Linked DNA regions of Homo sapiens: all the other regions are linked to region 1. The links are contacts of gene promoters, found by promoter capture Hi-C in blood cells and fetal thymus (Javierre and others, 2016). All regions are on one chromosome and are shown on one strand. The core of a region is centred on a gene start or on the middle of the fragment in contact, and the rest is flanking DNA. Distances in the headings are between cores, read along the strand shown. Region 1 holds the start of EMX2 (empty spiracles homeobox 2). Region 2 has its middle 18 kb from the start of LINC02944. Region 3 overlaps CASC2 (cancer susceptibility 2). Region 4 overlaps FAM204A (family with sequence similarity 204 member A). Region 5 has its middle 31 kb from the start of LINC02944.

What was found. The method cuts DNA at HindIII sites, captures the fragments that hold promoters and counts their contacts. A CHiCAGO score of 5 or more calls a contact.
Region 2: a fragment that was not itself captured here is called in contact with the fragment with the promoter of EMX2 in region 1 in 6 of 17 cell types (total CD4 T cells, non-activated CD4 T cells, activated CD4 T cells and 3 more); the score reaches 7.4 in total CD4 T cells.
Region 3: a fragment that was not itself captured here is called in contact with the fragment with the promoter of EMX2 in region 1 in 2 of 17 cell types (non-activated CD4 T cells and activated CD4 T cells); the score reaches 5.7 in non-activated CD4 T cells.
Region 4: a fragment that was not itself captured here is called in contact with the fragment with the promoter of EMX2 in region 1 in 1 of 17 cell types (endothelial precursors); the score reaches 6.0 in endothelial precursors.
Region 5: a contact is called between a fragment that was not itself captured here and the fragment with the promoter of EMX2 in region 1, in 2 of 17 cell types (endothelial precursors and M2 macrophages). The highest score is 6.7, in endothelial precursors.

Annotation. Positions count from the first base shown.
Region 1 is chr10:117,541,355-117,544,054 of GRCh38, forward strand. It overlaps EMX2 (empty spiracles homeobox 2), which reads left to right and starts at 1,392. Exons shown (of 3, transcript NM_004098.4): 1 at 1,392-2,319. The coding sequence starts at 1,914. It also overlaps EMX2OS. RefSeq lists an enhancer at 2,607-2,700. The HindIII fragment of the contact is 6,949 bases long and covers 1-2,700 here.
Region 2 is chr10:118,222,446-118,225,145 of GRCh38, forward strand. No RefSeq gene overlaps it. Among named protein-coding and RNA genes, the nearest start is that of LINC02944, 18 kb to the right of the region's middle. The HindIII fragment of the contact is 4,713 bases long and covers 1-2,700 here.
Region 3 is chr10:118,193,610-118,196,309 of GRCh38, forward strand. The region is part of intron 3 of CASC2 (cancer susceptibility 2); the gene reads left to right. Among named protein-coding and RNA genes, the nearest start is that of LINC02944, 47 kb to the right of the region's middle. The HindIII fragment of the contact is 1,486 bases long and covers 519-2,004 here.
Region 4 is chr10:118,314,583-118,317,282 of GRCh38, forward strand. All of the region lies in intron 7 of FAM204A (family with sequence similarity 204 member A), which reads right to left. Among named protein-coding and RNA genes, the nearest start is that of FAM204A, 26 kb to the right of the region's middle. RefSeq lists an enhancer at 1-1,602. The HindIII fragment of the contact is 2,432 bases long and covers 80-2,511 here.
Region 5 is chr10:118,271,574-118,274,273 of GRCh38, forward strand. No RefSeq gene overlaps it. Among named protein-coding and RNA genes, the nearest start is that of LINC02944, 31 kb to the left of the region's middle. The HindIII fragment of the contact is 803 bases long and covers 881-1,683 here.

The sequences.
Region 1 (2,700 bases), core at 142-2,641:
TAGATAATAGATCTTTAACCACCAATAAACAGAGAGCAGCGCCAGCAGCCTGGGGATGTGATCATAATTATGCCGCCGCGCGAGCCAATGGGGACGAGGGAACTCGGTCCTAAAATCATCCCAAAACCGAAGGCGAGCTCGAAAATGCGGACACGGCCCGGGACCGGAGATGCGATCCGTAGTCGTTAGTTGCACTGGGTTTGCACAGCAACCACCACCCCCCCACCAACCCCGGGACAACAGATGGCATAATAATAATAATAGAAATAATAATAATAAAATAATATCATCTATAATAATAATAACATTGACCACACTGACAAAAATAATTACGACGGAACCTTAATAGTACAGTAGCACCATATCGGGCTCTCCCCTGACCTTGGACTGCCGGTCCCAGATATTCCAGAAGGAATTGTTTTGGGGAAGGAGGTGAGCACCCTCCCAGACAGAAAACGCTAGAGACCGTGGGGCGAGAGAGGGAGAGAGTTGGAAGCCCACTGCTCCGGCGGGGTCGGCAGCTCCCGGTCTCAACTCGCAAACGAACGAGCCGGGTCAAGAATCGCGAACGCACCGACCCTGGGACCTCGAGGCTAAGCGTGGTTGATGGGGTGGGAGGACCCCGTACCCCTCACTCCAGGATCCCTCCTGGCCTAGGAAACCGCTGGGAGTTTTGCTAAGTGTGGGGATTGGTATAACCGAACGGCGCCTTTAGCCCGGGAACCAGCCCCTGCCCGCTTACCCTCGCGGTGCTCTTGGGGCGATCCCAGTTCTCCCGACGCGGGGCCGCGTAAGGCAGCAGCGGCGGAGCGCTAGGCTAGAGGAATCTGTCTGTCCTTCTGTCCTACCAGCTTGGGCGAGGCAGGCTCGGGATTCAGGGGGCCGCAGCGGAGGCGGCGCCGGCCAGGGACTCTGCAGGGACCGGGGTGCCCCGGAGGGAGTGGTGCTGGTGGAGGAGGAGGCGGTGGCTGAGGGGGAGTAGGTGGGGAAAGAGGAGGAGGAAGAAGAGGAGGAGGAGGAAGAAGAGGAGGAGGAGGAGAAGAAGAAACTGGAGGAAGAGGAGGAGGCGAAGGAGGAGGAGAAGCCGCAGCGGGCGCCGCAGGAGCGAGTGAGCTGGGAGCGAGGGGCGAAGGCGCGGAGAAGCCCGGCCGCCCGGTGGGCGGCAGAAGGCTCAGCCGAGGCGGCGGCGCCGACTCCGTTCCACTCTCGGCCCGGATCCAGGCCTCCGGGTTCCCAGGCGCTCACCTCCCTCTGACGCACTTTAAAGAGTCTCCCCCCTTCCACCTCAGGGCGAGTAATAGCGACCAATCATCAAGCCATTTACCAGGCTTCGGAGGAAGCTGTTTATGTGATCCCCGCACTAATTAGGCTCATGAACTAACAAATCGTTTGCACAACTTGTGAAGAAGCGAACACTTCCATGGATTGTCCTTGGACTTAGGGCGCCCTGCCCGCCTTTTGCAGAGGAGAAAAAACTTTTTTTTTTTTTTGCCTCCCCCGAGAACTTTCCCCCCTTCTCCTCCCTGCCTCTAACTCCGATCCCCCCACGCCATCTCGCCAAAAAAAAAAAAAAAAAAAAAAAAGAAAAAAAAAGAAAAAAAAAGAAAAAAAATTACCCCAATCCACGCCTGCAAATTCTTCTGGAAGGATTTTCCCCCCTCTCTTCAGGTTGGGCGCGTTTGGTGCAAGATTCTCGGGATCCTCGGCTTTGCCTCTCCCTCTCCCTCCCCCCTCCTTTCCTTTTTCCTTTCCTTTCCTTTCTTTCTTCCTTTCCTTCCCCCCACCCCCACCCCCACCCCAAACAAACGAGTCCCCAATTCTCGTCCGTCCTCGCCGCGGGCAGCGGGCGGCGGAGGCAGCGTGCGGCGGTCGCCAGGAGCTGGGAGCCCAGGGCGCCCGCTCCTCGGCGCAGCATGTTCCAGCCGGCGCCCAAGCGCTGCTTCACCATCGAGTCGCTGGTGGCCAAGGACAGTCCCCTGCCCGCCTCGCGCTCCGAGGACCCCATCCGTCCCGCGGCACTCAGCTACGCTAACTCCAGCCCCATAAATCCGTTCCTCAACGGCTTCCACTCGGCCGCCGCCGCCGCCGCCGGTAGGGGCGTCTACTCCAACCCGGACTTGGTGTTCGCCGAGGCGGTCTCGCACCCGCCCAACCCCGCCGTGCCAGTGCACCCGGTGCCGCCGCCGCACGCCCTGGCCGCCCACCCCCTACCCTCCTCGCACTCGCCACACCCCCTATTCGCCTCGCAGCAGCGGGATCCGTCCACCTTCTACCCCTGGCTCATCCACCGCTACCGATATCTGGGTCATCGCTTCCAAGGTACGTGCCACGTCGCGGAACTGCAGCGCGCCGCTCCCGCCGCATCCTTCACTGCCCCCGGCCTGCTCCGGGTGGGCGCTTGGCAAGGCCTGGGCGGAGGTTCCTCCGGCTCGCGGGCCAGCGCGCCCTGTTGGGAAACTAGGCGGCGCGGGGCCGGGCGTGGTGTCGATCCCCAGTCTCCGAAGCTACGACTGGTTTGGAGTGATGGCCTGCGGGCCGCTTGACCCTTTGGGAAGGGGTGCGAACGGAGAAGTTGTCCCCCAGTGCGCTCGAATCAGAGCAGGCTGGGCTGTGCGTGCCCGGCGCCGCGGAGCCCAGAGCCCGCGGGATCCCCAGGCTCCTGGTACCCTCGGCAATGCCCCCAACCGTCCTGGCTCCGAG
Region 2 (2,700 bases), core at 192-2,691, 680 kb after region 1:
AGCAATTGCTCAGTATAAATTTTTAGTAGAGCCTATGTTATACTCTGATTTTTATAGTACCATTTCCCTTTCTGTAAAACTGGAATAAGGTTATTTGCCTTACCTCCTTTGCAAGATTCCTAGTAGGATCAAATAGGATAACAGATGAGGAATTACTTAAGAAACTATAAAGAACTCTAAATATAAGGGAGCATTGTTTTTATTTAGTAAGGGTTTTAAACAGTCTTAACGATTGAAGACCTCTTTAAAAGAATTTGCTGAGTATTTATCTCCATCCCTCACATCTAAGTTCACTTTATTTTGGCTGTATTTGTTTTACTTCTGTGCAACCTGCATCTTTGAAATTATTATTGAAAGTAAAATATTTATTTTCTTTAAAAATAAAGATAAGTGGGAACTTCAGCTTCTAGAAAAATGAAGCAGATGTACTTTTCCCTATTTTTTCTTCTAAATACAACTAAAAATCCTGAGCATTATATACAAAACAAATATCAGAAAGCTCTGAAAGGTGGATGGGGAGGGAGGAAGATGGGCCAGGAGCCAGGAGACCTGACGAACAACACAATGATGAGCTATATGGATTTTCTTTTTGATTCATGTATCCCAGACTGAATGCTGGAAAAGCCAGCAACCTAGAAATGCAAATAGGTACAGACAAAAAAGCCTTAGCAAAAACCTGCTGTCTCTAGCAAACGGACAAGGTAAGGGGTGGCCTACCAAGAAAGAACACTTTTGGTGAACAATCACTCCGCTACAGCATCACAGAAAACGTGGAAGTCCAGGTTTACCACTTGGCCTTTGCTGTCATGGATGGGGATGGGGCCCATTCCCACCAGGCTGCAAGGAAAACACCCAAAATCCACCCCCATCCCCACTGGAGTGGTGTTAGAGATGGCTATGTAGCTGGGACTTTCATCCCTGCCAGGTGATAAGGAGCTCCCCCACCCCCAACCCCATCATGTCCATGTGAAATCAGTGAAGGCCATATGGGAAGCCTGAACTTTAGCCCCCACTTAAGAGTAATGAAATGCCCCTATTCCCTGACTCCATTGGAATGGTATCAGAGGGGACCTGAATAATCAGGAATTGGAGACCACCACACCCTGGGGTGTCAATAGTGGCCTAATGAGGAATGAGAACTCTCACACATACTAGCCCTAACAAGGAACCTCTCCCCTCCAAGTTGGGTATCAACAGAGGCCAAGAGGGAACTGGATTTCCACCCCTACCTGACCAATAGGAGGTGAGGCCCTCTCTTCAAAATGGTTCATCATTCCAAGAATCAGGATGATCTCAAACTGAGTGAAAAAAGTCAATTAAATGCCTACACTGAGATGATAAAGATATTCAAATTATCTGACTAAGATTTTAAAGCAGCCATGATGAGAATGTTTTGCTGGGCAATTATGAACAACATGAAATGAATAAAAAAATAGAGTCTTGGCCAAGCAATACAAAATAAATATAAAGAAAAACCAGATGGGAATTTCATAACTAAAAATATAATAACAAATTTAAAACTCTATAGGTAAGCACAAAAGCAAAATGAGGGAAAAGAGGAAAGAATCAATGGATTTGAAGATAGAACAATAGGATTACCTGACCTGAACAAAGGAGAAAAATTAGACAGAAAATAAATGAGCATAGCTTCAGAGTCATATGGAACACTGATAAAAGATCTAATATTTGTGCCACTGGAATTCCAGAAAGACAGGAAAAAGAGAATGAAGTTAAAAAAAAAAAAGTACTGGAAGAGTGACTGACTGAAAACATCCCAAATTTGGCTAAACACATAAATTTTATGTTCAAGAAACAGAGTGAACTCAAAACAGAAGGGCCCCAAAGAAATCTACATCAAGACACATCATAGTCACACTTCTTAAAACTAAAGATAGATTTTAAAATCCTGAAAGCAATGAGAGAGAAACAATACCTTACATATAGGAGGAAAACAATGCTAGTGGTAATGAAATTCTTAACAGAGACCACGGAGACCAGAAGGAAGTGGCATAACCTTGATCAACTGCTGAAAGAAAATAACTGTCAACACAGAATCCTATATCCAGAAAAAATATTCCTCAGGAATGAAGGGAAAATCAAAACATTTTCAGATGGAGAAAAACTAAGAGAATTTGTTGCCAGCAGACCTACCCTAAAAGAATAGCTAACAGAAGTTTTCTAAACAGAAAGAAAATGATAAAGGACTCTTAGACTATCAGCAAGAAGGAAAGATTATGAAAAGCAAAAATATGGGAGACTTCATTTCTCTTTTTGAGTCTTTTAAATTATGTTTGATGATTGGAGCAAAAATTGTAATACTGTCTAATGTGGTCCCAAATATACTAAAGAAAATATTTAACACAATTTTATTATACGGGGAAGGATAAATGGACATAAAGGGAAATAATGTTTCTACACATCACTTAAACTAGTAAAAAGATCACACAGGTAGACTGATAAGTTATGTGTATATAATATAATATCTGGAGTGACCACTTAAACAGCCATAAAAAGAGATATATTAAAAACACTTCAGATAAATCAAAATGGAATTCCAAAAAAATGTTCAAGTGAAACACAGGAGGTCAGGAAACAGAAAACAAAAATGAAAAACAGTGGGAGAATCAGAAATAAAATAAAGTGGCAAATGTAATGCCTAATAAGCCAATAATAATTTTAAATGTAAATGGTGTGCATACA
Region 3 (2,700 bases), core at 12-2,511, 650 kb after region 1:
TCCCAACTTATTTGTCCTTTTGGCTTAGAGGTGGACATGCCCAGCAGGGTGCGTTTACCCTGCTGATCTGTGAGCTATTTTCACCCTTCTCGGTGAGTGCGTTTTTTCTACTCTGATGCCAGTCTCATCCCCTGAGGATGGCCCATGGAAAATCACCCCTTCTCAGAAACCTGCTTTCCACATGAGCTGTCTAGTGGGAATCTTGGACTGGGAGCTTCATAGGTTCTCCAGCTGCCCCTACTCCCATCTTGAAGGCCTGCCCAGAGCAGATGTTCTGGAAATATGTGATGCAGGAATGTAACAGTTCAATTCTCTCATTGAGAAGATGAAGAAACTTAGATTAAAAAACAAACAAACAAAATACCTTGTCACACAGAGGGTTGGTGACAAAGATGAGAAATGACAAAAAACGGGAAATGGGAAACAGATAAATACCGATTCTTTCCAGTATCAATTTGGGAGTAGAAACAGCCTATATTGAACAGTCTCCAAATAACTAGGAAGAAAAATGTAATTAAAGCTTTTATTCTCAAATTGTAAAATCTGTGAAGAACTGGTCAGACTTTCTGCTTCTTTTTTAAAAAGATTTATTTTCCTCTTAATACAAAAGTTCAATAGCCACATAAAAATTGGAAATGTGAGAGTAACATAAAGAAGGAAAACAAATTCAGCTATACATTTAGAATCCCAAAGAAAACTATTGTCAACTTCTTGCTGCATTCAAATGTAATCTTTATTTAACATGTTTTTTCTTGTAAAAACACTTCTTAACAAAACAGTTGTAATCATACTGTGATTTTGTGTACTTTTTGTTTTTTATTTTTAATATTATAATATTTTCCCCTAGTTCTCCAAGTTATTATGAAATCTTTATAAATAGAATTTATATGGTTGTATAATTTTTCAGGAAATTGATATAACAATAACATAAAGATCCCTTGTGGTTCAATTTTACATTGTTTCCAAGACTACCTTATTAAAAGTATTATTGCCATGAATATCTTTGTGGGAAAGAAGGTGGATTTCCATTTTTGGAACTTTTTTCCTTAGGATGGATTCCCAGTCGTAGAATTACTGCATCAATATCAGGTCCATTTTCAAGGCTCAGGTTGTTTGTTATGTGAAATCCACATTGCCAAATTGTTGTCCAAAAGAATAATATAAATGTATATGCTCACTAGCAATATGTGAGAGACTATTTTATCATACCTTAATGAACATTGTTTTTATCATTTAAAAATATTTCCAGCCATGAACCTGTAGTCCCAGCTACTCAGGAGACTGAAGTGGGAGAATGGCTTGAGGCCAGGAGGTCAAGACTATGGTGTGCCATGATACCACCGGTGAATAGCTACTGCACCAGTAGGTTGTCCACCTTGGGCAACACAGTGAGACCCTGTCTCTAAAAAAAAAATTTAATATTTCCTAATTTGTAAAGTAAAAATTGATATATTTGAGTTGCTTTAATTTCCATTTTCTCAGTTCTCCATGAGGATGAACATTTTCTCATTTAAAATACTGGTCATATTTTTATTATTTTTATTTTTATTTTTATTTTTGAAGTGGAGTCTCACTTTGTCATCCAGGCTGGAGTGCAGTGGCGTGATCTCAGCTCACTGCAACCTCCACCTCCCAGGTTCAAGCGATTCTCTTGCCTCGACTGACCAAGTAACTGGGATTACCGGTGCGGGTGCCACCATGCCTGGCTAATTTTTGTATTTTCAGTAGAGACAGGGTTTCACCATGTTGGCCAGGCTGGTCTCAAACGCTTGACCTCAAGTGATCTGCCCGCCTTGGCCTCTCAAAGTGCTGGGATTACATGCATGAGCCACCTCACCCAGTCTATATTTTTATTATTTTTAAAATTTGTGTGTGACCTTGCCTGTTTATCTGTTAGAATATCAGTGTTTTTGTGTCAATTTATATTAACTTTGTATCTATTATAGATATAATTTTTATATCTGTTGCAAATATACTTTTCCAGTTTTTGTTTGGCTTTTTAAAAGCTTCATGAAAATACAATAAATTGCACACAAAGTGCAAAATTAGACAAAGTTGAACCTACACCATCAACACAATCAAGACAATGAACTTATTCATCGCCCTCAAAAGTTTTCTTTGACTTGTTCATTCCCCATCCCCAGGTGACCACTGTTCTGCTTTCTGACACTAAGTTTTTCTAGAATTTATGTTAGTGAAATCATATAATGTGTACTCTCATTTTGTTGATACTCTTTCACCTAGCATTATTAATTTCGGATTCAATCACGTTGTTGTGTCTAACAATAGTTCATTCTCTTTTTCATTGCTGAGTAGTATTCCATTGTATGGTTTTGCCAATTTATTTATTCATTCCCCTGTTAATGGACATTTTGTTTCCAGATCTTTGCTATTGCAAATGAATATGCTATGAGCATATTGTATAAGTCATGTACAAGTCTTCCTGTGGACATGTGCTTTTGTTGCTCTTGGATAAATGATACCTAGTAGTGGAATGGCTGGATCATATAGTAAGTGGATATTTAATGTTTTCAGAAACTGGCAAACTGTTTTCCACATCAATTATACCATTGTATGAGAGTTCTAATTTCTTCACCTCCTCACTAACATTGGGTATAGTCAGCCTTTTAATTAATTTAATTTGATAGATTTGTAGCGGTATCTCATCACAGCTTTAATTTGCATTTTTCCATTGTATAA
Region 4 (2,700 bases), core at 46-2,545, 770 kb after region 1:
AAAATAGGCCGAAAAGAATCCCCCTTCCACTTCCATAAAAAGAAAAATGCATCTTCATGCTCAATGTAAACATCACAAAAGCTTGGTCAATGGTTTAATATTTAAAAAATGGTTTTGGGTCATCAGATAACTATAGCAACACAACGTGGAAAGAAATTTTTTTAAATGAATAAAATATATACAAAATTTCTTGTATGTGTAGCCAAAGTATCAGCATTTTCCATATAGAACATCCAATATTTTGCTGCATTTTAATTAAGGTGTCTAAACATTATCACAAAGAACTGCAAATTGGTCAGAGCATGCAGTAAGGAAAATTAAGCTCTAAAGGCTTTTTATCACCATATTTCAGGAACCAAGGGTGTAAAATGTTCTAATTTGGGATATATTAAAAGCCATAAAAGGTCTTTCAAAAAGATTAATGGTACTTTGCTTGGATTTAAGATAAGGGCTTTAGCTGGTTGGAAAAGCAGGGCCCTGGCTGGACCCTTGAGGCATTCATCTTTACAGCCACTTGGAAGATTTGTAAAAGCGTCTGCATAACCTCAAGCAAATGCACGGCGACATTTTTTTAATTCCTTTCAATTTTACAGGTTTAGCGTGTGTAAATCATATTGGGTTGTAAAATAGATATAATGGCACATCCTTGCAACACAGTACAGATTTTTAAAAGACAAACTTCAAAATAAAGTTAGTTTTTCTTGCAAAATCTTGTCATTATAAAGTTTGCTGATAATCATTTGAAGTATCTGATTCAAACCGCTTAATCTAGCATAACTGTAAATTTCTTATCCGTTTCAGAGTAAATTTTACTCATCTCAAAATTACTAGCTTGTAACAGATTTATAAAGTTTTCCTCCCTTTTGAACACTTTCAAGGCACTTATTTAAAAATACCAATTATCATACTTTAACTTTTTATGGAATAATAGGTCTCTATGAAAAATATTTATGCCATTCTCTTTTGTTCTTTAATTAAATGAAAACAGATGTTTTCTGAAGTAAAGCGGAACCATTACTGGAGTACTTAAAGTGTTAAGGTCTTTAATTTTTATATCAGTTTGGTCGACAATTCTTGATTGTCTTTACTCAAGCTCAACATTAATGTCAAGCAAGTTACCTAGGAGACGAAAGAGATCAAAGAGACAAAAACCCCTCCAATGTCTGATTAATCAAGCCTGCAAACAGCTTATTTCTTTTAGCCTGCATGCAAGTATGAAAATGAGATTCTGGGAGCCGAACATGGTGCAGATTTGTTCATTCTTATCAGAACAAAGCCAGCGGCAGCTTATTTCATGGATCATTGGCACTGTCATCAGTGCTACACAGAACGGGTGACAGCTCCTCATTTTGAGGCTTGAACAAAATTAGCAAAAAGTCGGCACAAATTAGCCTCTCATCTTTTTAGTAATATGACATTATTCATTTACTTTTTATCCAATTTTTAATTTTTTCCTTGTCAGCTATCCCTTTCTAGTGTCTCTTGCATGGCATCATAAAATGCCTTCCAAAAAACAAGCAAAGAAATAGCCAAAGTTGAAATAACATACAAAGTTCAAGAAGCAAATAAGAAAAAGTACTTCCAATGACTGGTAACACTGTGTTTTTAAAAAATAACTTTCGAAACTCTGCATTAATATTGATTTTTAAAAAACAGCTCACAATGCCTTGCAGTGAAGGAGTTTTAAGAAACTGGTGGTATATTTCAACAAAGAATATAATGTGACCAATGTGTTTCACTCAAACCACAATTTAATATATTATGTGCTCTAGTAAATTCAAGACATCTACATTTGAACTGGTACCTTTCCCTCCATGGTCACACCTGAGATGCCAAAGCCCTGGTGAAGCAAATAAGCTAGGCCATATCCAGTCACTTAACTCCTTCTTTAAATCAAATCATTTTCTGTCCTAAGAAATATAACCTAACTTCACTGTCATCTTAAAATGTGCATGCACAGGTTTGCATATGTTTGCACGTTTGTATACTACATGTATCTATATATATGTACGATCGTTTACACAGCTATCATTTATTTTTATACCTACAACTCCTATCACTTTATTTCAAAGCATAACCCAACAAATCCTGTTTTTAAAACACATCAAATAGATATATATACAAATATCTTTTATATGTGTATATCCACATATCATTCATATATGTGTGTATATGTGCATATATGATTCATATACTCTGATTTCATAGTGAAATCATTTACATAACACCTGTTTTAATGATGACTATTAAGGCTTCAAATTATATGTGGATTACAGTATTCCAAAGGAGGGAGAAGATGATGTTCTACTGTTGAAATTACTCCTGGATACAGACGTTTATATTCAAGCAACTTATGCCATTCATAAGGGGAAAAAAGCATTAAAAAATTAACCATAAGCTGTTAGATGCTTTACACAGCCCCCATAAGAAAGACAGTTTTTTAAAGAACTGTAGTACTGTTTTCAGCAATTTCTTTATCTCTGTTCTTCTAAGTAAGAAAGCCTATTAACAAGCTTTGAACTTAAAATCACATTTACAATAATGTGCCATCAACAGTTTTATAAGCTAATTAGAAAAAGATTAATTAATGACTGGCTGCTAATAAAATGGCAATCATGAAGAAAGAAACCAAGGGTGCTAAGCTTCAACTACCACCAATTAAGAGCTAATTACAAACAAATTATATATGTGTTTTGCTGT
Region 5 (2,700 bases), core at 32-2,531, 730 kb after region 1:
TAAATTGGGCATAGGCCACCTTTGCAAGGCAGTCCCTCCTTTACTGTCCAAGTGAGCAGAGACACAGAAGGCTGGGTGTAGACCCAACAGCCTGGTGTCCCCCACCTCCTCTGGGGCCCCCTCCACGCAGTTCCAAAAGCCGTCTCCATGGCCTGCTTGTTTAAGGTAATTACAACATGCACTTCCTCCCTGCTGCTTCTGCTGAGGCAGAAAATACTTCATCATTTACTTCAGTCATGAGAATAAAGCCAAAAAATCTGGAACATAAACACCATTTTTTCTTTGCATTCAAAGGCCAAGCTCAGGGTGAGTTTGTGAATAATAAACCCAAGTTGGCAATCAAGCTAATAAGTATGAAGTTGCTGGGGAGAGAAGTCCTCCGCGAGCTGGGAGCTGAGGGTGTACCCAGGGCTTTTTGTTCCCCTGTTGGTAAATAACAGCCCTTTATTTACACACAGTTGTTTCGGCTTCAAAAGATATTCAAAGCCCAGCTAGTTTCTGCAGTTGCTTTACATGGAAAGGAATATATATGTGAATTTTTAAAGAGATTGAGCCCCAATTAAATCTATGCTGCCCGGAGAGAGTTGCAGGCGAGTCAGCCTGAGATCCAAGGGGGAAAAGAGGCGCATGTGATTAGCAGGCAAGCCAGGGTTGTAAACATAGGCGCTTTCTTTCTGAAATGGGAATTGCCCGCAAGAAAGTATTCATCTGCAGCCTCGAGCTTAGAGAAATTCCAGGGCCAGGCGCCTTTTGGTTTAAGAACAGAACTTTGAACTCTCCATTTCAAAAACTGAATTTCTCCTCCCCCTGGTTAGGAAAAGCATCCGATGCCGAGCGTCTCCATTCAAGCTCTCCAAACTTTCAGCATTTTTTCATTTGAAGCTTGTAGCCATACAAACCTCTGGTAATGAGTTCCCTGCCCGAGACAAGTTCTGCATCCAGTTTGTGCGCCGGCCCAGTGAAACAGTTTACAAGTCTGAGAGTCCGAGGGGGCGGAATCCAAAGGAAATCTCCAGAAAGGAATGAAGAGCTATCATGGAAATCTTTATTTATGTGAAGAGAAAGAGCTAAAACATTACCTCAGAATGCAAGATTACAACATCAGTCGGATAGAAAGTAAATCTATTCTAGTGGTGAGACATCAGAAACCCATAATCCTTTCTCAAAGCCCTTTTGTTATTTTAATGTCCGACAAATTATGCTTTTTTTTTTTTTAAAGAAGAAAAACACTTAGATTTGAGAGGTTTCCTTTTTTCCCGAAAAAGTAATTTCACTACCTAAAAGTTTTAATTTTCTGTAACCTGGTCTTTACTGTGCTGGCCGAGCATACGTACAAGACCATGGTAATTTTCAGCTTCAATAGAACTGGGCACAAAGTGACCACCAGGATCGGCCTCAAGTTGCTATGGCAACAGTATTTCTAAAAGGTGCTGAAGTTATGTGGGGCATTTTTGTTTGCTAATTTTAAATTTTGCCTTTATAGTTTTTTAAAACAGATACATATGGATGAGTAAATTGCAATACTAACTCTTTTCTTCCTCTTTATGTCACTCATGTCATAGGGATCCTGACTATCTTGTAAATGACTTTGTAAAGAATTCACTAAGAAATAGAAAAAGAGTCAAAGAAAATTGGACAAATGACAAAAAAAATAAAAACCAAATTCATCCTGTTTTTTCTAGAAGCTTTTCAGTGGGAAATTCTCTCAAGAGATCCTTGAGAAGGGGCCAGGCCTGGAAGAAATGGGGCTTCCATGTGCCAGACCCTGGCTTGGTGCAGAGGTGTAAAGATGAGAGAGTTCACGTCATGCTCAGGCCACGGGCTCTGTCAGGCAAAAAAAAAACAAAAAAACTAAAAAACAAAAAAAAAAATCCTCGCCCTCATGGAGCAAAAATGTGAGGGAGTCACACAAAAGCCACAGTAAATGATTAGATAGATGATAGATAGATAGATAGATAGATAGATAGATAGATAGATAGATAGATAGATATAGATAGATAGATAGATGACAGATAGATAGATGACAGATGATAGATAATAGATGATAGATAGATAGATAGATAGACACATACATACATACATACATACATACATACATACATGGGTGGATGAATGGATAGATGGATGGATAAATGGATGGATGGAAGATAGATAGATAGATACATGGGTGGATGAATGGATAGATGGATGGATAAATAATAGATGGATGGGTAGATAGAAACATGGATGGATGAAAGCATAGATAGATGGATAAATAGGCAGACGGATGGATGGATGGATAGATAGATAGATAGATAGATAGATAGATAGATAGATGATAGATATAGATAGATCCATAGATACATAGATAGACACATAGATAGGTGGATGGATGGATAGATAAATTAATAGATGATAGGTGGATAGAGAGATGGGTGATAGGCAGACAGATGGTAGGAGAGATAGAGCTGGATAGATGGATGATGGATAGATAGATAGATAGATAACAATAGTGTGTCAGAAGATAACAAGTGCTGTGAAAAAACAAAACAAAACAAAAACAGAGGTGCTCCTAGAGCCACAGTGGGGTGTAATATAGAACAAGGTGGTCAGAATGGGCCTCACTGAGATTGGGGTCATTTGAGTACAGGCCTGAAGCAGGGGAGGAGTCGGGCTGACAGAGGGAAAACCAAGTGCAAAGCCCTCGATTCAGGAGATCGT